2 separate regions of the Homo sapiens genome follow, and region 1 is linked to region 2. The links are contacts of gene promoters, found by promoter capture Hi-C in blood cells and fetal thymus (Javierre and others, 2016). All regions are on one chromosome and are shown on one strand. The core of a region is centred on a gene start or on the middle of the fragment in contact, and the rest is flanking DNA. Distances in the headings are between cores, read along the strand shown. Region 1 overlaps RBM26 (RNA binding motif protein 26). Region 2 holds the start of NDFIP2 (Nedd4 family interacting protein 2).

Region 1 (4,893 bases), core at 2,103-4,602, 120 kb after region 2:
CATTCCTCTTAAATTCTCTTTGAGGAATTTCAATAGCTATTATTAACAACAATAGAAAAAAGATTTTTTTTAACAGCTTGTATGTGAGGGATATATGGATTCCTTGTAATTGAAAAGTGGCCACTTAAGATTTTAACTGTTGTGTGATGTTTACCTATATCCTGAACCTGTCTCCCACCTGGCTAGTTCACAGAAACCCTCTTTTCTTCTTTGGATAACTATTTAGCATGTAGTTTGTTTTCCTCATACCAATATTCCTTGCTTTTACTGGGAACCTTGTAGTGGGAATTTCCACTTCAATTAACATTTTACTGGGGATTCCCACTAAAGTCATTTCTTTCTACCTTGCTGCTTTGGAGCTGTAAATACATGCTACTACAGGTCAATATTTATTAGATCCATTCACATGCTAGGGCAATTTCTGGTTGTGATCAAGAGAAGCAAGGGGATCAAACCCCTTGCATTTAAATCTTACCATGTACAAGTTGGATGTGTGGTAATTTCAGCTCTTAATGCATATTGTTACAGAAAGTGATCCTGTTGAGAGAGAAATGTCTGTCATACCTACTTAGAAATTTGAATGCTTTTTCTCATAGAATCATTATTGTACATAGTGATTATTTTAGTACTCTTCTTTAGATACATCATGTACCATTTTTGTTAGCTAGTTTAGGATTGATTTTTCCATTAATAACAGTGATTTTATGTACCAAACAACTGATTTAGCAACCCATCCAAATTGAGGATTGCCTTTAGTCCTTCTGTTTTCTTATCTCTTTTTAGTCCTCTCCCTCCTCCCACCATGTGTTCTCATCTATTCCCAGTTTGGATTTTAAATTTACTGTCCTGGATTGTGACAGATACATAAAAAGCTTATTTATTGTTAATTATATAATTATTACACGTTCCTAATAGCCTATAGATGGCCTTAATTTAAATTTGTCATAGACTTATTATTATGTGATAGTTAAACTTTTATGCTTACTGCTTTAAATTTTGAGGGCAATTATTCAGCAAAAGGAAAGAAATTTGGGCCCTTTGATGCATTGAAATTACTAATGTAAAAGTTACCTAGAGGCCCTGACAGTTATTTTTTGCAGAGTTCTAAGGAGGTGGAAAACTTGATGGATGATGTCATGATTGGATATAGGGAGGAGGAAGGGTTAAGTAGTTTTCCATTTCTAGTCAACAAAACCAGTGCTGACAATTTTAGGCAGAAAAACAATTCATTAAAATGATTATTGGGGAAAAATACATTACATAAAACTATTTAATATTAGATCATTTGCTGAGTATATACCAAGAGGAACTTGCTTCTGTGTTTTTAATACCCTTCTTTTAAATATATATCAATGAAAGGGATTCCGAATTAGAGAATACAGATGAGATGGAGCAAACCCATTTCAATTACTGGAGGCAAAACACATTATTCCCTCTCTTAGTGAACCTTCAGGTACGGAACATATTAAAGTAAAAAACAAAAGATGTTGGATAGGTCACAGATTCTCCAAAAGGGCTGGTGAACCAGACTTGGGAGACAGGAATAAGACCAAAAATCCTTTTGCAGAACCGGTCCTTGGAAGGTACCACTGGACAGAGAAACATCGCACGTGCTAGATACAGGATGTTTCCTAGAGATGTAGGATAAGTCAGAGTTAGACAGAGGAAGAGAATAGATACAGCCTATGTACCCTGTGATACTTTTGAGAAACTGAAGGAATTTTGTGACTGTAAGAGAAGAAGTAAGTAATGTAGAGGGAGGTAAGAGGCTAATTAAAAGCATTTACAGAATTTTAGAATAGAGGTGATAGTAGCTGGGCTAGGGTAATAATAGAAATGAAAAAAATAAGTTTAGTGGAAAGAATTGACAAAACTTGTAACTTATTTAATTTGGAGGCTTAGAATAGGGGTAATAAGTGGATGAAATTAGACACCCGTTTCCTGCCCTGGATAATTGGGCAGATGATAATATCATTCATTGAGAAGGACAGCTTTGACAGAAAGATAAATTTAGTTTTGAAAGTGTTTAACTTCTTGTCCCCCTGGGGCATTTGAGTAGAAATGTCCAGTGGGAAATAGGATATGGAAGTCTGAGGCCCATGAGAGACAGTTGACTAGAATATACAGATTTTGGAATCATGCATATGTAGAACTTTGGTCCTTAATCTTTTCTTCTGTCCCATTAGTACCAGTGGGAGGTAAAGGGAGATAGAAGGAGCCATACCAAAATCTGTAGGTCTGACTTAACATAATTTTAAAAACCTTTCTCGTGCGTTTCTAAAATCTTCCTCTCCCCATCCCCACTGAGAATCACTGAAAAAGATGAATGAAGCCATGGCAGTAGATAAGAAAGTTATTTTAGGAAGGCTATGTAAAGTGAGATGAGAAAACCCAAGTATAACTACTTGACAAATGTCAGCATCAAAGTAAATGGACAGAGAAAGGAGAACTTTATAGAAAACTTAGAAATGAAGCCCAAAAGCTGCAGACAAAAGCAAGGAGTGGGGATTCCTAAAAACCCAGGGAATATAATACCTAAGATGGAAAAGAAGATGATCAACAGCCGCAAATTCTCCTGAGAGGTCCAGTAAGAGGACTGGGATGTATTCATAGGCTTAAGCAACAGGTGAGGACATGAGTGATTTTAGCACGAGCAAGTAAAGTGAAGTAATGGGAGCAACTGCCAGTTTTCAGAGGATTAGTGAGTGGGTGTTAAGGAAGCAAAGTTAGTAAGTGTGGACATTGATTAGGAAAGGGCTGTGGGAGTATGGAGAGAGATGTTGTTGCTAAAGGGAAAACTGGTTTTACGAGAGTTTCTTTTTTTTAAAATGGAGTAATTAGAGCTGTAATGTTTGAATGTTGATGGGAGGTATCAGTGTCCTGGGAAAGGTTGAAAATGGAGGAAAGCAGCAGGAGTCTAGAGCGTTGATTTGAGTCTCTGTATGTATGGCATATGTGGGTAGTCATATATCAAATATGACTTGACTGGGATGATTGGGAAAATGGTAGTTTCATTAATAGAAATGTTTAAGAAAAATAAAAGATAGACTTAATATGAAAATAATTTGAACGTTCTGCATAGTGAGTTTTGAGATACCTGTAGGATTTCCAGAGAGAACAAAGAAGTTGAAAATTTAGAATTGAGTATATGCTCTCCTCCTGCAGGAGACCATAGCTGTGGCCATGAGAGATATTGTGCTGAAACAGATCTTCAGTTCTTTTGGTTAGTTAGGTGTTTAGAAATATGTAAAAATAGGATTTTAGACAAATCAATTTTGCCATCTATAAAAAAGGAGTTTTTAAGTTACATTTTTCTATGTGGATTAAGGTTTGCATGTTTTAAACTTTGGAGTCATTTGGGAATAACAGGTTAAATGTACTATGCTCATTACATGCCATGTAAGTAAATATAAAATGTTGAAAGTAACAGACTTTTACAGCTCTTTTACACTGTATTTTAGACTTGAATCTTTTCCTTTTTTAAAGCAAGTATGCTTTCATTACATTCATATTTTATGAGTCTATTCCATATTTAAAAGCAGCTCACTTCAATCATAACTCTAACCTTTCACTTCTCAAAGATTATTGGATTAGTGTAAAGTTTTGAATCTTTTAGATTGTGCATTTGATTTCAAAACTATGAACTTAAAGCCTCAAAGTGATTATTTTCTCATTTGTGCATTGATATATATATATATATTTGTGGTGAGGGTGATGGTAGATGGGAACAATGACTTGGGTTTTATCTACAAAGAAGTGACCTACAGAATCACATTTTAATTTGGCATGTGAGAATTGATTCTTTTTCATAGTTAATTGTGAAATGAATATGTTGAAATAAGTTTGAAAAAACCCTTAGATTACTGTATTTGAATGTACAGTAATTCCCCTTTGTCTGTGGGTGATATGTTCCAAGACTCCTCGTGTGTAAAACCACAGAGTACCAAACCCTACATATACTATGCTTTTTCCTATACAGTCACACCTGTGATAAAGTTTCACTTATAAATTAGACACAGTAAGAGCTAAACAACAATGTCTAATAATAAAATGAAATAATTATAACAATATACTATAATAAAAGTTATGTGAATGGTCCCTGTCTTTCTCTGTCAAATATCTTTTTGTATTTACCCTTCTTGGGATGATAGGGGATGATAAAATGCCTACATGATGAGATCAAGTGTTGGAGCAGGATGGTGTGAGATTTTATCACACTACTCAGAACTGCAGGCAGTTTAAAACTTAGGAATTGTTTACTATTTCTGTAGTTTTCCATAATTTTGGACTGTGGTTGACTAGAGATAACTGAAATCGTAAAAATGAAACTGGATAAGGGGGAGCTACTATACATTTATTTCTATTTCTTCTAAAAAAAAAATTATATATATATATATATATTTAGACAAAAGCCAGAAATTTTCCTGTATGAGGAAGGTATCTATGATAAATAGAAAATATTAACCTATGCTTATTTTTTTCATTTTCTTTTGTTTTAAAACAGAAAAGCCTCCCAATAAAAGCAGTATGAGGATAGTAGTGGACTCAGAATCAAGGAAAAGAACCATTGGTTCTGGAGAGCCTGGAGTTCCTACAAAGAAGACTTGGTTTGATAAGTAAGGTGGCCAGGAAAATTGAGGAGTATAATTGTGCATTGATTTTCAGGATCATTTCTGTATTATTATGACAATATGGTTTGGTTTCTTCCAAAAATGTTACTCTGTTCTGTAAGCAATCCCCAAGTGTGAGTTTTCTAAAAATTGGCAAGTTAGTTGTCTGATGTTAGAAAAGCATTTTCTTACAGAAATGGTGTGGTAGTTCAGGGCATAATTTTTTCCTCTTATCATTTACCCTCCTCCAAAAAACCCACTCTTTAACTTAGACCTGTTGAAT
Region 2 (5,168 bases), core at 1,918-4,417:
GAACTTTGGCCGGGCTCTGTGGCTCACACCTGTAATCCCAGCACTTTGAGAGGCCAAGGCGGGCAGATTATTTGAGGTCAGGAGTTCGAGACCAGCCTGGCCAACATGCTGAAACCCCATCTCTACTAAAATACAAAAATTAGCCAGGTGTGGTGCACCACACTTGTAGTCCCAGTGACTCAGGAGGCTGAGGCAGGAAAATCACTTGAACCCAGGAGGCGGATGTTGCAGTGAGCCGAGATCACGCCACTGCACTCCAGCCTGAGTGACAGACACTCCATCTCAAAAAATAAAAATAAATAAATAAATAAATAATAAAATAACGAACATCAAAGTTAGAATGTGGTCTAGCAGCTGCAAGCCAAGTCAACTTCGTCATAGTTAGCAACACTGCTCATTTACTAACAAACAAAACTGAATTTCCCATAAAATTACGTGTCATACCTGGCTTTTTCTGAAATTAGAAGGGTAACAATCAAGAATTTTTGTAGCTCTAAACTGTTATCCACTGCTTTACTCAATAAATTTTGGATGCTTTTAACAATGAAAGGAAAGAAGAGATCACAGAAAAAGCAGTTTCTAGATAAAGCTTGTGCATTGGCTAATGGTAGTAAGTCCTTCTGATGACCCTGAGCATCACTGCTAGCTTTCCAGTATGAAAAGCTGTTTTTAAACTCTTTAAGTAAGTGAAAAATTAACATTGCATACCATCTCACCCCTAAGTATACTTGCCTATCTCCTGACTTAGTCATCCCTTAACATTCAACAACTCAAGTGGTTTATTGCTCCAGTTTATTAAGCATTCCAGTTTTCCCAAAAACTGAGCTAAAGGCAACCACAAAATAGTTGTGTTCATCATATAAGCCAGAGCTGAAGACTGATCCCTAGTTTAAAAAGTCTATTGAAAATGTCAATTCAGCTTTTTCTCTGGCATACACTGATGTTATTAATCAGGCCATTATAAACAAAACCAAGAGTTATACTAGATAGGTTAAATGACTACGTAAATTGTGTAACTCTAACACTAACATTGCCTTACAATGTTAGTTGTAAGTTGCCTTACAAGGAGAACAGATCGATGTCCTACCTAAAGTACTACCTTTAGAGGGACTGGTAGGCTTTATCTTTAGAAGAACTGATTTTTGCCCTCTGTTCTCAAGGAACATTCAAAGTCTATGTAGGACACATCGTCAGTTTGAAAAAAACGAGGGGAGGGGGCAGCAATAAAATATGCCCATTTATTTTGAAAGGAGTTGTTGGGAAAACAAATATCTTAAAACTGAGAGCTACATAAATTAACAGTGTTTTGGGTAGTGACGTCTGTAGGAAAAATGAAACAAGTTTCACTGCTGATATTATTCAATATTTATATCATTTTATTTTTGCTAACATTTACAAACCTAGAAATGCCTTTCAAACCATCAAAAGGGTGTACACTGACAACTTGAAAAACGCTTTCCATACTGGGAGAAACAGTATTTCCCAAGTTGTTGAGAAAAGCTGATAAATTTTCAAAGAATTCGGAATATGGACCTTTTGTAGGTTTTAAGGAATGCAAACCAATTGAAAATGGAAGCCTCATGAGCTTTTATCTTAGAAAAATGCAAAATTACATACTTTAGGATCTCATCTTACAGTTCCTTCATATTTGCCAAAATGTACTTATTAATAGAAAGTCTTGGCTTATAACCTGTCTTACATGTGCAAATAGATTTGAAAGTTGAAACCTGGGACTAACATACCTAAATTTGTAAAATTTTATAAACCATAAACTGCATCACCAGTGCTATGTATTGTTTTTCTCCTCTCCCTCAGTAAATGGGCTGAAAGTTTGTAGAATGACATGCTACCTAGCTGCAACAGCACAACAGCAGAGTCAACTATTGCTCAGTCCATCTTTAACTAAGGTTTACAACAGGAATCTCCAACGTCACCACCAGAATACACAAAGAAAAATATATTTAAAAATTGACACTGAAAATATAGAGGAACACATTTCACTTTTTTCAACATAGTTACCAAAGTTTACACAGTTAAGCTGGAAAACCTTGTATTTAACGAAAAATAATTTTTCAAACAAGATTAGAATTTGTTCTACTAAAACTACCTCTGTTTCCCCTCTAACCAAAAAAAAAAAAAAAAAAAAAAAAAAGAAAGAAAGAAAGAAAGAAAAAGTGGGGATTACCAAAAAATACAGTCATTTTTAATACTAACATAATGGAAAAGGACAAAATGACAAGGTTAACGAGCAGAGAGACAAGATCAGCATTATGGCTAGTCTTTCTCTACAGTTCCACAATTCCTAACCCACATTTTTGCCAAATCCACATCCCACCCCACGCAGTACTTACACCTCCACCCACCTACTCACCCACCCCATTTATGACGGCGATCACCTTCCGGGCAGGTATGTGAAGTCAGCCCCATTTCCAGTAGACAATCGACTAGAATGTCTCAGGAGTGACTGAGTCAGAGAATAAGAAAATGATAAAGTGAGAAATTAAAACGGATACAAGTTGTAAGGTGTGTGGAGGGAGGGCGTCTCACAGCGGGGCTAAGGGTGCGGGTGAGGAGCTAAGCAGACTTGGGGCGAGAGAGAAGGGTTTCGAAGGAGTCCTAGGCAGGAGTGCGCAGGTGAGGCGAGTGAAGCAGCTCCAGCCAGAAGATCCAAAAAAACAAAACAAAACACAACAAAAAAAAGCCACAGCTTTTCCTCCGGGAATAACCTGAGGAAAGGGACTCTCGGGACGCCGCGGCGGGAGGCAGTCCCGGGAGGCACAGGAGGCCGGGAACTCACCACCTGGTAGCGCCCAGTCCCCGGCTGGTGGTGATCCATCCTGCCCGGCTCGGGATCCGGCTTCCGAGAGAGGGAGTCTTCTCCGTGCTCAGCTCCCACGGCCACCCCCGTCGACGACGTCGTCGCCGCAGGGCCCCTTCCGCCTCCGTTCCTGCAGCCGCGGTCTCCCGGCGGAAGCTCTTCACTTCCTGTGGCTCCCGCAGCGGCCGCCGAGACCTCCGCGTTGGTCGCGGTTCCGCGGAGAAGCTCCGGGGCGCCGCGCGCGCTATTGAGCATGCTCGGACCGCTCGCGCAGACTCGCTGGCTCCGCCGGCGTGCCATCCGCGCCGCCAGTGGGAGGGTATAGCTGGGTGGGAGGAGATGGAAAAGTAAGGCAAGTCCGGGGGAGCTGTCTAGGTTGTCAACCTGTCGAGTGGGCGGTCGCAAAAGGCGCGCGGGGGGCGGGAATGACCCGTCCTTGATTGGTCTTTTCTGTGTGCGCGAGTTTCGCGCAGGCACGAGCCAGTGCGCCTTCTCACCACACAGAGACAGAGGCTGACAAGGGATGGGGCCGCGTTCCTAGAACACCTGAGGACAGGTCGCCCGGGTACCCGACACTTCCTCACCCAGCGTAGGACATGGGGAGGAGATTCATCTCTAGAACATTCCCAAAACGCTTATTCAAAATCATTCGTAAGATAAGCGATTTTTTAAAGACTAATATAGAGTAGTTAGAGTTTACAGAAAAATTGAGAAGTTACAGAGATATCCCATATACACTTGGCTCCTACGCATGCATAACCCCCCACCATTATCAACATCCCCCCTCAGAGTGGTACATGTGTTACGACTGATGAACCTGCATTGACACCTCATCATCACTCAAAGTCCATAGTTACCTCAGGGTTCACTCAGGTTGTTGTATACTCCTCGAGTTAGAACAAATGTGTAATGGCAGGTATCCATCATTATAGTATCCTACAGAGTATTTCCACTGCCCTGAAATTCTTCTGTGGGGTAATTTTTGTTTTTGTTTGTTGTTTTTTTAGAGATGGGGTCTCACTATATTGCCCAGACTGGAGTGCAGTGGCTGTTAGCAGGCGCAGTCATGGCTCACTGTAGCCTCGAACTCCTCGGCCCAAGCTATCCACCTGCCTCAGCCTCTGGAGTAGCTGAGACTACAGGCACTAGCTCTTTGGTTACTTTTTAAACTCTTTTTTCCACTTTTTGGTAATAAGAGATTTAAAAATCCAACGGACTCTCCAGACAACTCTCAAAGAAAGAGGTCTCTAGAGTTCTAGGTTACTGGAAGGACGTTAGAAGAAAGTAATGAAATCAGATAGGATTATTTTGTGGTAATACTCAATAATTCCAATTGATTTAACAGCAAGGAATCACTTGGGAGCACTGTTAGTAGTATCTCACTGTCTGGTTAACCACACATGACACGGCATAAAGCATATTTCTCTAGCAAGTAGAAGAGTATGACAGAGCAGCGAAAAGTACCTTTTAACCTGAAGACCAACGTTCTATACCCTAAAAACTATGATGCTGCTTGATGTGGCCCAGCTATGTTTTTAACATAACACCACATTTTCCCTAAATGATCTTACAGTGGAGCGCCCTGAAGGGAAGGAAAGGGATCTGGAGCCCCATTTATTTCCTTCATGAATGTCCAGAGGAGATCCTTGAAATGAAGACTGCCACTGGGTGAGCCTAATCAACTGGTTAAAATAGCAAGATAGAATAAAAACAGAAACTCTTTGAGAGATTGACAACTAAAAAATGTAAGCCTTCCTCATAGTTCTTTTTAAAGCATTCATCAACTCTTCCTATTTGTGCCGTTTTGACATGTCTAATAGCATAAAGCATTACTGTGCTAACAATAAGAGGCAGTGATATCTCATACTTAAATATTGTTAAACTTGCCTTGTTTTGATCTTAATGTATTTTAGTTTCTAAGCCAATAAACATATGCCATTTTATTGGTATTACTGGTACAAACGCTCACTCTCACAATTTCACTCCAAATGGTATTGCCTCTCGATGACCAAAACAACAGCCAGTATCAGCAAACTGAAATTAGATCCTTATATCACTTACGATCTATAAGATTTATTTAGAACTTAATTTTATATGCATATGTGTTTTCATTAATCATTCATGTGTTCATCTGTTTCTCAAATAGATGGCTGCTCAGGGCAGAGACCATTTCTTACACCCAATGCAGCACTGAGAACATAAAAGTAAAAATCAAAGATCTGACCAAAAGCAGACATCTTGAATCCTGATAGAGTAACAGATTCTTTCTATTTTACCCTCCTCCCAGATTCTCTGAACATTTTGCTAATCTAGTGGAGTAACAAATTCAGCAGGAAAGCGTATTTGTAAT

The links. Contacts are between HindIII fragments. The CHiCAGO score rates a contact against its expected background, and 5 or more counts as called.
Region 1: a contact is called between a fragment that was not itself captured here and the fragment with the promoter of NDFIP2 in region 2, in 1 of 17 cell types (activated CD4 T cells). The highest score is 5.5, in activated CD4 T cells.

What each region holds. Positions count from the first base shown.
Region 1 is chr13:79,359,298-79,364,190 of GRCh38, reverse strand. RBM26 (RNA binding motif protein 26) reads left to right here. Exons shown (of 22, transcript NM_001366735.2): 10 at 4,505-4,616. Among named protein-coding and RNA genes, the nearest start is that of RBM26, 45 kb to the left of the region's middle. The HindIII fragment of the contact is 4,955 bases long and covers 875-4,893 here.
Region 2 is chr13:79,479,154-79,484,321 of GRCh38, reverse strand. NDFIP2 (Nedd4 family interacting protein 2) reads right to left here and starts at 3,167. Exons shown (of 8, transcript NM_019080.3): 1 at 2,798-3,167. The coding sequence starts at 3,118. NDFIP2-AS1 (NDFIP2 antisense RNA 1) reads left to right here and starts at 3,091. Exons shown (of 3, transcript NR_046685.1): 1 at 3,091-3,170; 2 at 4,392-4,486. The HindIII fragment of the contact is 10,753 bases long and covers 592-5,168 here.